Regions from separate parts of the Homo sapiens genome. Here regions 1, 2 and 4 are each linked to region 3. Evidence: promoter capture Hi-C in human tissues and cell types (Jung and others, 2019). All regions are on one chromosome and are shown on one strand. Each heading gives the region's core, a stretch centred on a gene start or on the middle of the fragment in contact. The rest is flanking DNA. Distances are from core to core; before and after follow the strand shown. Region 1 overlaps TRA2A (transformer 2 alpha homolog). Region 2 has its middle 15 kb from the start of TRA2A. Region 3 holds the start of FAM221A (family with sequence similarity 221 member A). Region 4 overlaps IGF2BP3 (insulin like growth factor 2 mRNA binding protein 3).

Evidence for each region. The method cuts DNA at HindIII sites, captures the fragments that hold promoters and counts their contacts. A contact is called where the count stands out against the background at its distance.
Region 1: a contact is called between a fragment that was not itself captured here and the fragment with the promoter of FAM221A in region 3, in 2 of the 25 tissues and cell types used here (dorsolateral prefrontal cortex and spleen).
Region 2: a contact is called between a fragment that was not itself captured here and the fragment with the promoter of FAM221A in region 3, in 5 of the 25 tissues and cell types used here (aorta, bladder, hippocampus and 2 more).
Region 4: a fragment that was not itself captured here is called in contact with the fragment with the promoter of FAM221A in region 3 in 1 of the 25 tissues and cell types used here (thymus).

The regions. Positions count from the first base shown.
Region 1 is chr7:23,524,411-23,527,462 of GRCh38, forward strand. The region is part of intron 1 of TRA2A (transformer 2 alpha homolog); the gene reads right to left. Among named protein-coding and RNA genes, the nearest start is that of TRA2A, 6.0 kb to the right of the region's middle. The HindIII fragment of the contact is 5,751 bases long and covers 1-3,052 here.
Region 2 is chr7:23,545,612-23,548,881 of GRCh38, forward strand. No RefSeq gene overlaps it. Among named protein-coding and RNA genes, the nearest start is that of TRA2A, 15 kb to the left of the region's middle. The HindIII fragment of the contact is 8,662 bases long and covers 1-3,270 here.
Region 3 is chr7:23,678,731-23,682,136 of GRCh38, forward strand. FAM221A (family with sequence similarity 221 member A) reads left to right here and starts at 1,469. Exons shown (of 7, transcript NM_199136.5): 1 at 1,469-1,553. The coding sequence starts at 1,489. RefSeq lists a silencer at 1,403-1,692 and an enhancer at 2,023-2,272. The HindIII fragment of the contact is 14,044 bases long and covers 1-3,406 here.
Region 4 is chr7:23,431,988-23,435,042 of GRCh38, forward strand. The region is part of intron 2 of IGF2BP3 (insulin like growth factor 2 mRNA binding protein 3); the gene reads right to left. Among named protein-coding and RNA genes, the nearest start is that of IGF2BP3, 37 kb to the right of the region's middle. The HindIII fragment of the contact is 3,324 bases long and covers 58-3,055 here.

The DNA.
Region 1 (3,052 bases), core at 294-2,793, 150 kb before region 3:
TGACCTCTAGTGATCTGCCCGCCTCAGCCTCCCAAAGTGCTGGGATTACAGGTGTGAGCCACCGCGCCCGGCCAACATCAGATTTATTTTAAAAGAAGCTTTGCTTTTTATTATCAAAGGTGTCACAAATACCTAACCTCCTTTGTTGTCTGCCCTTCTTTCTTTTTATCTCAGAGGAAATCTCAGTCTGCACAAATTTCTTCATGGAAACATCTAAGCTAAAAACAGTCCTCTTAGCTGTCTCTAACTCCTAGCTACAAAGTTGTCACTATGATTTTAACTATTTTTTTTTTTTTTGAGATGGAGTCTTGCTCTGTAGCTCAGGCTGGAGTACAGTGGCACCTGATCTCAGCTCACTGCAACCTCCGCCTCCCGGATTCAAGCGATTCTCCTGCCTTAGCCTCCTGAGTAGCTCAGCTTACAGGTGCACGCCATCACACCCAGCTAATTTTTGTGTTTTTAGTAGAGATAGGGTTTCCCTATGTTGGCCAGGCTGGTCTCCATCTCCTGACTCCTTGATCTGCCCGCCTTGGCCTCCCAAAGCGCTGGGATTACAGGTGTGAGCCACCACACCCAGCTTCATTTTAACTTTCAAAAACAACTTACAAACTTATATTAACAAATCAGTAACTATTAGTAAACTTAACTGGAAGAATAAACTGCCAAGTATATAATTATTTAGAAATAAAGTAACATTTCTCAAAAGCTGTTACCAAATAAATGTCACTTTCACTGAACTCTGCATTAGGAATCAGGCTATAAGAAGTCCTTTATATAAAGAGGACAAATGCTAGGCTAATCCTTTTCTCTCTGACTCGTCTTCATTATGAAATAATTTCAACTTTTTCTCAAAGAAATTCATAAAACTATCCACAATTTGGAAAATGAATTGAAATTGCAAACAAAAAAGATTGCTGGGAATGGGTGGTATCTGCCCTGTTTCACTAGACTACTTGTTCTTAAAGCTGTCCAGTCAAGGAATCCTACCATTTCCTCAGTAATCTGGCTCCTGCATCCAATAACCATTAAAAATACACTGCCCGGTTTAAATGGGCAGATTAATAACTCAACTCGTATCATGAATTTTAACAAAAGTCTTAAATAGGCCTCCAGTCTATCTTATAGGCTATAAAGCAGAAGCCAGGCAGAAAAGTTCTTCTCACAGCACAACCTGCTTTAACAGGTTTTTGTTTTGATGTTTATTTGCTTGTTTGGTTTTTCTGTCACCCAGGCTGGAGTGCAGTGGCACAATCTTCTCATTGCAACCTCCAACTCCTGGGTTCAAGCAATTCTGCCTCAGCTTCCTGGGTAGCTGGGATTACAGGCACCCGCCATCGCACCTGGCTAACTTTTGTATTTTATTTTAGTAGAGACGGGGTTTCACCACATTGGCCAGGCTGGCCTCGAACTCCTGACCTCAAGTGATCCACCCGCCTCAGCCTCGCAAAGTGCTGGGATTACAGGCATGAGCCACTGCACCCGGCCTGCTTGTTTAAACTATTCTTTATTATCAAGATGACCCTGCTGTTGGTTGAAGGAAATGGCCAAAAATTAAAAGGAGGGAACTAACTAAAACACTAAGAAAGTGTTATAGTGTAACCAATACAAGCTGGTTAAGAATTGTCTTTCTGTGTTAAAATAGAGTTGTATTTTACACACTGTGAATAACCACAATAACCATGTACTATTCTTTTAATCAGGAAAAGGGTTATTATATACATGTACACAATGTTGCGGAACATGAACAATTCCTACAGCAAGCAATAACTGCAGTCTTTTAATATAGCCTGTGTCATACTATAAAAAGAAATTCCAACACAATATATATATGTGCTATCCATTAAAATAAATAAACTATTAAATGCTATACTGTAACTTACTCTAACATTAAGGCCAGGCAAATTCTATGCCATTTAATAGGGCCAAATTTACTCAAGTCCAAGTCTATGAGTATAAGCTTGTAAAACAGACTTACTAAAAATGTATTTTCCTGCTACTTTATGACACTGGCGCTCTATTTCCATAGATACACACTAGTGCATTGAGGAAAATCACAAGTACCCAAAAAGAAGGGAAATGTACCGAAATTATTCAAATACCTTACAATATTCATTTTACTACTTACTAAAGAACTTCTTTAGGAGTTGTAAAAAACCTGTATTTACTCAACCTCAGCCTATAGAAAGAACAACAGTTCTGCTTCCTTCCCCTTGAGTATGGGAGAATACTCTTACAGACCCCTATGAAGTTAAAGCAACACTTCCATTATCTTCTTAAACCGTAACTGCTATTAGAACAAATCCCTTAAAAAGAAGATAGCGACTGCTCATATTAAATTGAAATAATAATTTCCCTTCTTTTAAATGCAGCATGCCTATATGCTGCATTCTGAAGTCAATGTGGTCTTTATCTGCAAAGACTCAAACATATTCTAATTCTGTATGTTTCCTTATTCTCTAAAATTTAGAAGTCTTATCATAAATACATGATTTAGTAACTGACACCCACATATAATCAAATTTAAACTCATGCCATAATTGTGAAATCACCTGTAAAATTTATAATCTTTTGTACAAATTTTAAACGTGGTTCATAAGTCTCATAGCTTATATATCCTGATCAATTGTAATGTTCAAAAAACTAATGTATAAGTGGCAATTTCAAAGGTAGAAAAAACAAGTTTGTAAGGACTAATGTGATTTAACATTATGTTCTAATCTTCTGGAGTTATACAGTATTTATGAATCTTGGTAAGTCAGATGATAGGGTCCTGGTTTCAAGGAAAGATCACAACTTTTCTTCTACATATCAGTCAGGCCTAGTCACTCCATCTTTGGTGAAAGTCATGGGACAGTAAGGATTATATATAACTATATATATAAGTAACTTAAAAGGAGGGAAGGGAAACCATATTTCCCTTTAGTATTCTCCTCTCAACTTTTCTTCAGTGTATACAATCTTTCCCTCATCTAGTTGTTACTATTTTTTTCACCTCCATGCCTGTCTTGCTAAATTTGTGAGGACATATGAACAAATAGCAATCAGTTTTAAT
Region 2 (3,270 bases), core at 742-3,241, 130 kb before region 3:
TTCCACTTTCTGAGCACTACATCCTATCATTTTAGCCCACTCCCTATAGTAGGTTTATTTCAACAAATTTTTGATCTCATTAGGTAGTGAGTGATAATGTCTGATGATGTCATTAGGACAACCAATCCATCAATCAACTGCATAGTATTTATACTATGAAAATCAACAAATCTACAAATTAGTGTTCTTTTCCTCTTTCTTTCAGAAAGCTAGTTGTTAAACATTTAACTCTTGTGTATTCATGGGATATACCTTAAGCAATCTATGTATGTGTGTGTATGTATATATATGTATGTATATATGTACACATATATAAAATGTTGCTTTGCACATTTAAACATTTTATATACCTGGTTTACTATAGTATGTTTTCTGATATAACTTTCCCTCCACAGCATTTAGGTTATGAGATGCATTCATGTTGATATGTGTAACTCTGGATTACTGTTTTTTTGTTTTGTTTTGTTTTGTTTTTGAGACAGAGTCTCACTCTGTTGCCCAGGCTGGAGTGCAGTGGCATGATCTCAGTTCATTGCAGCCTCTGCCTCCCAGATTCAAGTGATCTTCCCACCTCAGCCTCCTGAGTGGCTGGGACTATAGGCCTGCACCACCATGCCTGGCTAATTTTTGTATTTTTAGTAGAGAAGCAGTTTCGCCATGTTGGCCAGGCTGGTCTGGAACTCCTGACCTCAGGTGATCCGCCCGCCTTGGCCTCTCAAAGTGCTAGGACTACAGGTATGAGCCAAGGTGTTGGCTGGTTCATTCATTTTTACTGTTCTGCCCTACACGGCAAGAATGTAAGCTCCATGAAGGCAAAGATTTTTATTGGTTTTATTTTCTGCTATATTCCTAGGATTTGGAACAGTGCCTGGCACAAAGCAGGCTCATATTTATTTGAAAAAACAGGCCCAGGACAGTGGCTCACACCTGTAATCCCAGCACTTTGGGAGGCCGAGGTGGGCGGATCACTTGAGGTCAGGGGTTTGAGACCAGCCTGGCCAACATGGGGAAACCCCATCTCTAATAAAAATACAAAAATTAGCTGGGTGTGGTGGCTCACACCTGTAATCCCAGATGCTTGGGAGGCTGAGGCAGGAGAATCACCTGAACCTCGGAGGTGGGGGTTGCAGTGAGCAGAAATTGTGCCACTGCACGCCAACCTGGGCAACAGAGTGACACTCCGTCTCAAAATAAAAAAAGAAAGAAAGAAAGAAAAAGAAATGAATGGTGTGCCTGAAATTCTACCTTTGCCACTTATTTAATTTAAAATATTGCTAGGTTATTTTTCTTTTTGTTTCTGTTTTTGGTTTTTATTTTTTTGCTGTCCCTTGCGGAGCAGGGCTACCCCATACGCGGTGTGCGCGGAGTAGCCTATGTTGCTGTTTGGTAGCTTAGTAGATCTTACTACACTGAACCACTTGGGTTTTCAAACCTTGTCAAGGAATTTATTTTGCATATCATTTGTAACCAGAAGAGGGCAAGCTTGGAGAGAAAAAGAAATTGGTGAGAAACGGAAACAAGTCCTAAATGCAGGACGCTGCCTGTTTTGAATGTCTACAGCCACCAGGTGGCAGTATGAGCATGCTGGAAATTTAAGGTCGGTGATCCAGGCTACAGAGGTCTCCAGATGCAGATGGGTGCCCCAAACTTACACATTTTCCACTTTATTTCTCCTTTTGGCCAACTTGTCATTTTTTAACATCATTATTATGCAGATTTATATAAGTTGATACTTTCTATTTTCCCTTACATTTGACAATACTAAATTTAAAATATTGGCGCATAACAGATAATAAAAATCACAAGGCAGGGGGCAGTGGCTCACGCCTGTAATCCCAGCACCTTGGAAGCCTGAGAGAGGAGAATCGCTTGAGCCCTGGAGCCTGGGCAACATGGGGAGACCTTGTCTCAAAAAAAAAAAAATCTACGCGTGGTGGTGAGCACCTATGGTCCCAGCTACTTGGGAGGCTGAGGTGGGAGGATCACTTGAGCTCAGGAGGTCGAGGCTGCAGTGAGCTGTGCCACTGCATTCCAGCCTGGGCGAGAGCGAGACCATGTCTCAAAAAAACAAAAAACAAAAACAAAACAAAACAACAAACAAAAAGACAAAAAGCAAAACAAAACAAAAAACTCATATAACATACAAATCACTTTTAAGCCTGTCTGCTTCCTTGCTTTCTGCCTGCTTGCTTGCTTCCTTTTCTTTCTTTCTCTCTCTCTCTTTCTCTCTTTCTTTCTTTCTTTCTTTTCTTTGTCTTTCCCTCCTTCCCTCCCTTCCTTCCTCCCTCCCTCCCTCCTTTCCTTCCTTCCTTCCTTCCTTCTTGCCTTTTCTTTTCTTTTCTTTCTTTTTTGACATGATCTGACTCCATCACCCAGGCTGGAGTACAGTGGCACGATCTCGGCTCACCGCAACCTCCGCCTCCTGGGTTCAAGCAATCCTCCCACCTCAGCCTCCTGATTATCTGGGACTACAGGTGTGTGCTACCATGCCTGGCTAATTTTTGTATTTTCTGTAGTGATGGGGCCTTGCCATGTTGCCAAGGCTGGTCTCCAACTCCTGAGCCCAAGCAATCTGCCTGCCTTGGCCTCCCAAACTGCTGGGATTGCAGGCTGGAGTCACTGTGCCAGCCCTTAAACCATTTTAAAGTGTAAAAATCAGTGGGTTACCTTAAACCATTTTAAAGTGTAAAATACAGTGCGTTTTAGTATAATATATTCACAATGTTGTGCTACCATCACCATGACCTAATTCTGGAATATTTACATTAAACCAAAAGGAAACCTTATACCCATTCAGTCACTTGCCAGCCTCCCCCCATCTTCTGACAAGTACTAATCTACTTAATGTCTCTATGGATTGCCTGTTCTGGGGATTTCAGGTAAATGGAATCATACAATATAGCAACATTTTTTTTTTTTTTTTGAAACAGAGTCTTGTTCTGTTGCCCAGGCTGGAGTGCACTGGTGCAATCTCAGCTCACTGCAACCTCTGCCTCCTGGGTTCAAGCGATTCTCCTGCTTCAGCCTCCAGAGTAGCTGGGATTACAGGTGCCTGCCACCATGCCTGGCTAATTTTTGTATTTTTAGTAAAGACTGGGTTTCACCATGTTAGCCAGGCTGGTCTTGAACTCCTTAACTTAGGTGATCCACCCATCTCAGCCTCCCAAAGTGCTGGGATTACAGGCATGAGCCACTGCACCCGGCCAGCAGCACATATTTTTAATCGCAATATTTATCTATGGCATCATACAGATGGACACTGGAGACAGA
Region 3 (3,406 bases), core at 219-2,718:
GTTAGTTCAGTTGCTGCCTAAAAGCAAGACTAGGCTCTCATAGAGGTAGAATGGGGCTGGGCGTGGTGGCTCACGCCTGTAATCCCAGCACTTTGGGAGGCTGAGGCGGGCAAATCACGAGGTCAGGAGATCAAGACCAGCCTGGCCAACATGGTGAAACCCTGTCTCTACTAAAAATACACACACACACACACACACAAAAGCCAGGCGTGGTGGCTAGTGCCTGTAATCCCAGCTACTCAGGAGGCTGAGGCAGGAGAATTGCTTGAACCTAGGAGGCAGAGATTGCAGTGAGTCGAGATCCCGCCACTGCACTCCAGCCTTGGAGACGGAGCAAGACCCCATCTGGGAGGTGTCGGGTGGAAGAGGTAAAATGGACAGCAGCAAACCACACGTGTGATAGGAGAGAATACTGAGCTGAGATCAGTTTCCTAAAATATGAATCCGATTTCAGGATCACTCATTTATCTGACTGTCAAGAACGCCTCTGAACAGGAGGAAGACTTTGGGGAGAGGGTGGGGTTTGTTGAAAGGGTACCGAGAAGGGAGGTGGGTGGTACCCAAACAATTTGTTTACATAATGTTTTATGGACCTGAAATATGTAGAACAGTACTTTGAAACTAAAGTACTGTACTGAAGTTTAATTATTTTTCTTATTGTTTGCATATTCTCCCTCCCAGATACTTTACAGAGGGCGCTAAAGCTGATCCCCTGGGAGCTTCAGAGTTTAATGACTTCGCCTGAAGATTTCCTATTCTTTTCCACAACGTGCTAAGTCAAATTATGGCCAAATTACCAATCGCATGGTAATTCAGCTTCTAAATATATTTTGCAGAGTGTTTCCAAAAGTTAAAAAACAACAACAAAACTTCACCTAAATTGTTTTTACTTGCTTCACCTTAAATCAGTTATTCGGTTCCTTTGAAGAACATGTAGCTTTAGCAACCCCCAAAGTGAACCCAGATACCCAGGACTACTGATTGTTACATCAGAGTTTTTGAAAACGCCAATACTGGAAACAGGCCGACAGTTAAGGAGAGGCAGGCCTCAAACTAAAGCAGAACCTTCTCAAAACTACTTATATTTCAAGAGATGGATTAAGCGAAAAGAGCTGTACAAAGAAATAAGCCATTTTCTATGCGCCTGTTATATGCAAGGCACTGCACTCCCTTGTCACTTGTTAATTTACAAGAAGACTCGCCGGTCCAGGGAAGGGAGAGGGGAATAGGTGCAAGGTTTGTGGAGGGCGGCAAACTGCACTCCATGTGGCGCGAGGCTGCGCTTGCGGAGATCCGGGTTCTGGTGCCTGGCGCCGGCAGCCAGTAGGGGCGCGCGTCCTGCGCAGTTGCCGCGCGCGGCCTCCTCGGGCTTCAGGCCGGGCCAATCAGGAGGCGGGCGGGAGGGGGCGCGGTACCGGGAGGGAACGGGGCGGGTCGGGCTTCGAGGTCAGCTGGTCCGCAGGGAAGCCTTTGGCTTCCCCACCGGCAATGGAGCGGTTGACGTTGCCTCTCGGCGGCGCGGCGGCGGTGGACGAGTACCTGGAGTACCGGAGGTGAGGCTGTGGCTCCGGGCCTGCCCCCCCGCCGCTCCGAGGGGCCAGGATCCCTGGGCTGGGGGCGCGAGCAGGGGCCCGGCGGGCGTCCGCGGGGGTTCCCGGAATCTGTGCCTGGGCTGTTGGGGGAGGCCTAGATGAATTCCAGTTTAGTCTTTGCCTAATTAAATATTGTAGGGCCACGCGGTTCTATGCAGTGATGAGTCTTCCAATAACATTTAAGAGGCCCCTCTGCTCCCTTCCAAGAAGGATGACTAACTCTAGATTGATACAGAGGTCCAGCTGTTTTTTAAATGGCCATTGAAAACAGGCACATCGAGTACTCGGGGCTATAGAAGTTAGCATACATCAAATTAACCCAGTAATTGAGTCAACCGTGAACTTCTGAACGCGCTCCCCACCCCGAGGTGCTGGTTTTAGGAGAAAGGCACCGACTGGTGTTTGGTATTCTGGAGAAACCCCTTCCGAAACTGGAAACGGAGTCGCTCCTTTGGCCTGAGGACGCGGTTCATTGTCCTGGATCCTGACCGAGGCTGGTGCACCTGCAGCGACGCGCTCTTTTTCCGCTTCCTGGGGTTTTTGATCGTCCGGAATCTGGGCGGATGGGAAGTCCTGGAGAGGACCGCCTGAGGACGCGGAGTTGGGGCGGGAGGATGTGTGTGTACAAGCGGAGGGGAGACGCTCCAGGCTCCGCCAGGGAGGCCGGAGCGAGCGACAGGGGCTCCTCTGCGGCATCGTGGGTGGCCCAGATGACCCAGAGGTGTGCGCGCAGACGGCCCCCCAGCTGACTGTTCTCCCCTGCTCTGACTGCCCTGTTTGTGTAGTTTTGGGTAACCCTTAGAACTGCCTGGATATTCTGAGCCAGAAGAATAAGGGCTAGGAGCTTGATGGGGTCAGTTCCCACGCCCGGTTCAGGGTCAGAACAACCACCATCCCGTCCTCTCCCAGAGCAGAGCCGGCTCCTTTAGCCTCCAGTTCTCCAGAGCTTTTGCCTGGGAGCAAGTTGCTGGAGCTGGTGTTGACTGATAACTTGGATATTTAGATATGTGAATTGTGGGCCTCCAGTTGACTCTTGCCTAGCTCCGAACATGTTAGGGCAGACCTATGTATGTAGTTATTTATTTTATTGAGAAATTATTTAGTTATTTATTTTATTGAGACGGGGTCTGACTCTTTCCCAGGCTGGAGTGCAGTGGCGCGATCTCGGCTCACCGCAATCTCCGCTTCCTGGGTTCAAGTGATTCTCCTGCCTCAGCCTCCCGAGTAGCTGGGACTACAGGCGGCCAGCTAATTTTTGTATTTTCTGTAGAGACGGGATTTCACCACGTTGCCCAGGCTGGTCTTGAACTCCTGGACTCAAGCTATCCACCTGCCTCGGCCTCCTAAAGTGTTGGGATTACAGGCCTGGGCCACCGCGCCCGGCTGGGAAATTATTTTTGCAATCGTAAATAACTTGCAACACTTCCCTCTGAAAGAGATTATCAGGTCCTTTACTGACGTCAGAATTTTAGAAAAGTGGGGAAAACAGGACTTGAGTACCTAGATATGAAAAGGTGGGCTGGGAAGGTGGGGTGGGAAGATGAGTCAAAATATGAGTTTAGAAGGAAACAAACTTTCCTTCCGAAGAGTTTTCCTGGATTTGCTCTTGCCTAGGTACTTCGGTGGGAGTCGGTTGGGAGGGGAAGCATGCAGCCTTGTTACTCACACTGTGGGAGGCCCTGACCAGTGTCCTGGCATCACCTGTTAGCTTGTTAGAAAAGCAGAATCTCAGGCCCACTGCAGACCTATTATTATTATTATTATTTAGAGTCTCGCTCTGTCACCCAGGCTGGAGTGCAGTGGCACTATAATGG
Region 4 (3,055 bases), core at 470-2,969, 250 kb before region 3:
CTTAAACAATGAGCAAGGGAACAAAGTCTCTTTACATCACAGTTCTAAGTGAGAATCTAAACATGGTTTTTTCCATTATCCCCAGCTCCCAGATCTCCATGGTAACAGCTATGTTTTAGTCCCGTTAACTAAAACAGAGGTATATTTTATCTTTTACATTTGCACACGTTATCTCCATCTATGTAGAACAGAGTCTGACAGCCAGACGTGCATGGATGAAAACTTGACTGACGCCATGAGTATGCACTAGAAGAGTCCAAAAAAGACTGAATGTTTTTCTACGTACTCTCTTACTACTATTGTTTGCTTGCATTTACACACTGCTATGTCTTTCTTTTAGAAGATTAAATGTTCCTTGAAGAAACATAGTCAAAGTTTTTATACTTCCTTAGGACATGTGCAAGTTAGGAAAACCTAACACTGTTCGAAAGACAATTGATACAGGCACACATCATCACACTGGGCCTTTGTTTTACTTCTTAATGTGACTACTAGAAGGGCACGCACATCTTAATGTAGAATGTCAAACAGGAAAAAAACAAACAAACAAAAAAAACAGGGCACAAACTAATCCTTGATCCCTAAATAACCAAAGATTTTTATAGTCTTCATACTGAGATTTTAACTAAGTAAATGTGCTTCATTTTTTAATTTTTTTTTTTTTTTGGTGGAGAGAGGGTCTTGCTCTGTTGCTCAGACTGGAGTGCAAACGGCATGATCTCTGCCCATTGCAGCCTCAACCTCCGAGGTTCATGAGATCCTCCTGCCTCAGCCCCTCAAGTAGCTGGGACTACAGGCATGCGCTACCGCACCCAGCTAATTTTTGTATTTTTCATAAGCTGTGGTTTCACCACGTTGCCCAGACTGGTCCTGGGCTCAAGCAATCCACTTGCCTCGGCCTACCAAACTGCTAGGATTACAGGCATGAGCCACTGCGCCCAGCCTGTATATGTGCCTTTAAACTAAAAAGTCACCACCAGTATTACAACCACAGAAACACACGCAGTTGAACAGTTACTATTTAAATAAAAGCCTCACTGCCTGTATGACCTAAAAGCATAGCTCTTTCAAAAGTCTTAATATTAACACAATATAGTAAATTGTACTTATCTTCCTAAAAAATTAGAGTGGTAAGAAAGGAATAAAGAACTTGGATATAAAACCTCTAACATGCTTGAGTAGCACTGAAAATTAATTATTCCCATACTTTTCCATAGCTAAAACTAGTTTTATAAATATCATTATATTTTTTTCCCAGCAACAAGATATTTTTAAACAGTGATTTTTAGAAACCGTACATCTTAAGCTGCTCTGTCCAATAAAGAAGCCACTAGCCACATGTGTCTAACTACTTGAAATGTGGCTAGTCTGAATTGAATCGTTCTGTAAGGATAAAATACATACAGATGTTGAAGATTCAATACCAAAAAAAGCAAAATTTCTCAACAATTTATTATACTGTTACATTTTAGATATATTAGGTTGTATATAATAACTAATTTTTTTTTTTTTTTTGAGACAGGGTTTTTGCTCTCTCGCCCAAACTGTAGTGGCACGACCATAGCTCACTGCAGCCTCAACCTCTTGGGCTCAAGCAATTCTCCCACCTCAGCCTCCCAGTCAGCTAGGATACAGGCACACATCACCACACTGGGCCTTTGTTTTACTTAATGTGGCTACTAAAAAGTTAAAATCATATATATTTAGTTCATGTATTTCTATTGAACAGAGCTTATCTAAAACTAATTGATTAAATTTAATTTGTTTGTCAAGGGAATTTGAAGAACAATCAAGAAAAAGTTTTAGGCCGGGCACAGTGGCTTATGCCTATAAACCCAGCACTTTGGGAGGCCGAGGCGGGAGGATCATCTGAGATCAAGAGTTCAAGACCAGTCTGGCCAACATGGCGAAAGCCCATCTCTGCTAAAAATACAAAAATTAGCCGGGCATCACGGAGGCGTGTGCCTGTAATCCCAGCTACTTGGGAGGCTGGGGCAAGAGAATCGCTTAAACCTGGAAGGCAGAGGTTACAGTGAGACAAGATTGTGCCACTGCACTCCAGCCTGGGAGACAGAGTGAGACTCTGTCTGGAAAAATTAAAATTAAAAAAAAAAAAAAAAAGAAAAAGTTTTATATGGAATACGTATTTTCCACATAAAAGTAACCATCACTAAAACTGTACCTGCAAGAAGAGGTGTTTTAAGATTACTAAACTTTTAAAACCACTGTATTTTGAATACGGGGTATGTCTACATTAACAGTTTTTATTTCGTATTACTGCTAAGTGGATGTGGTTCTTAGACAAGGCAGATCCTTGGGTTTGTTTTTGTTCGTGGGAAAGTTGCAGTTGATCATTATCAAATTATACCACCTTCTCATCAACTTTAGAAACTATAATAATCTCACCACCCCAAAGCTTGAAGACTGTTTCCCAGAGGTAGACTTACACAGCCAGACTTGTTTATATTTCCATTTTTAATGTTTTCTACAAGTAGGCAAAGAAAATAAGCAAATAATTGTGTTCAAGAAACTCAGTATGAGAATTCTCAGTTTCACGCACTCTGAGAACTCCAATGTATCAACAAAACAAAAGGTTGACAAGTTTGATCTAAATATTTCTGCCTGACATTCCTCATCCTAGGTAACTCAACTCTTTCTTTTCTCCCAAGATATAATTTCACTAGGCTTTGTAGATAACCCTTCTCCTAGCAGAAAACACAATGCAAATGCAATGCTACGTTACCAGTCTCCAATAGCAGCAAATTGTTCCTGATTACTAAGCTCTTTTTCCTTCTAGTGAGATAGAACAGGTATGTTTACCACACTTAAGGACAAACAAGTTAAAAAAAAACTTTCACTTAAGTGCAACATGCTTCCCCAACTACATCAGTATTTTCCCAAATTTGAACTCAGTCACATTAATCCATCATTTCCTTGAATGAATAAAACCTTGGCCAAAGTATTAAAATTTTCCCTTTTCTCACCTATGACATATTTGCCAATTAAACACAAAAATCCTGAAAATGGGCCAGGCGTGGTGGCTCCTGCCTGTAAT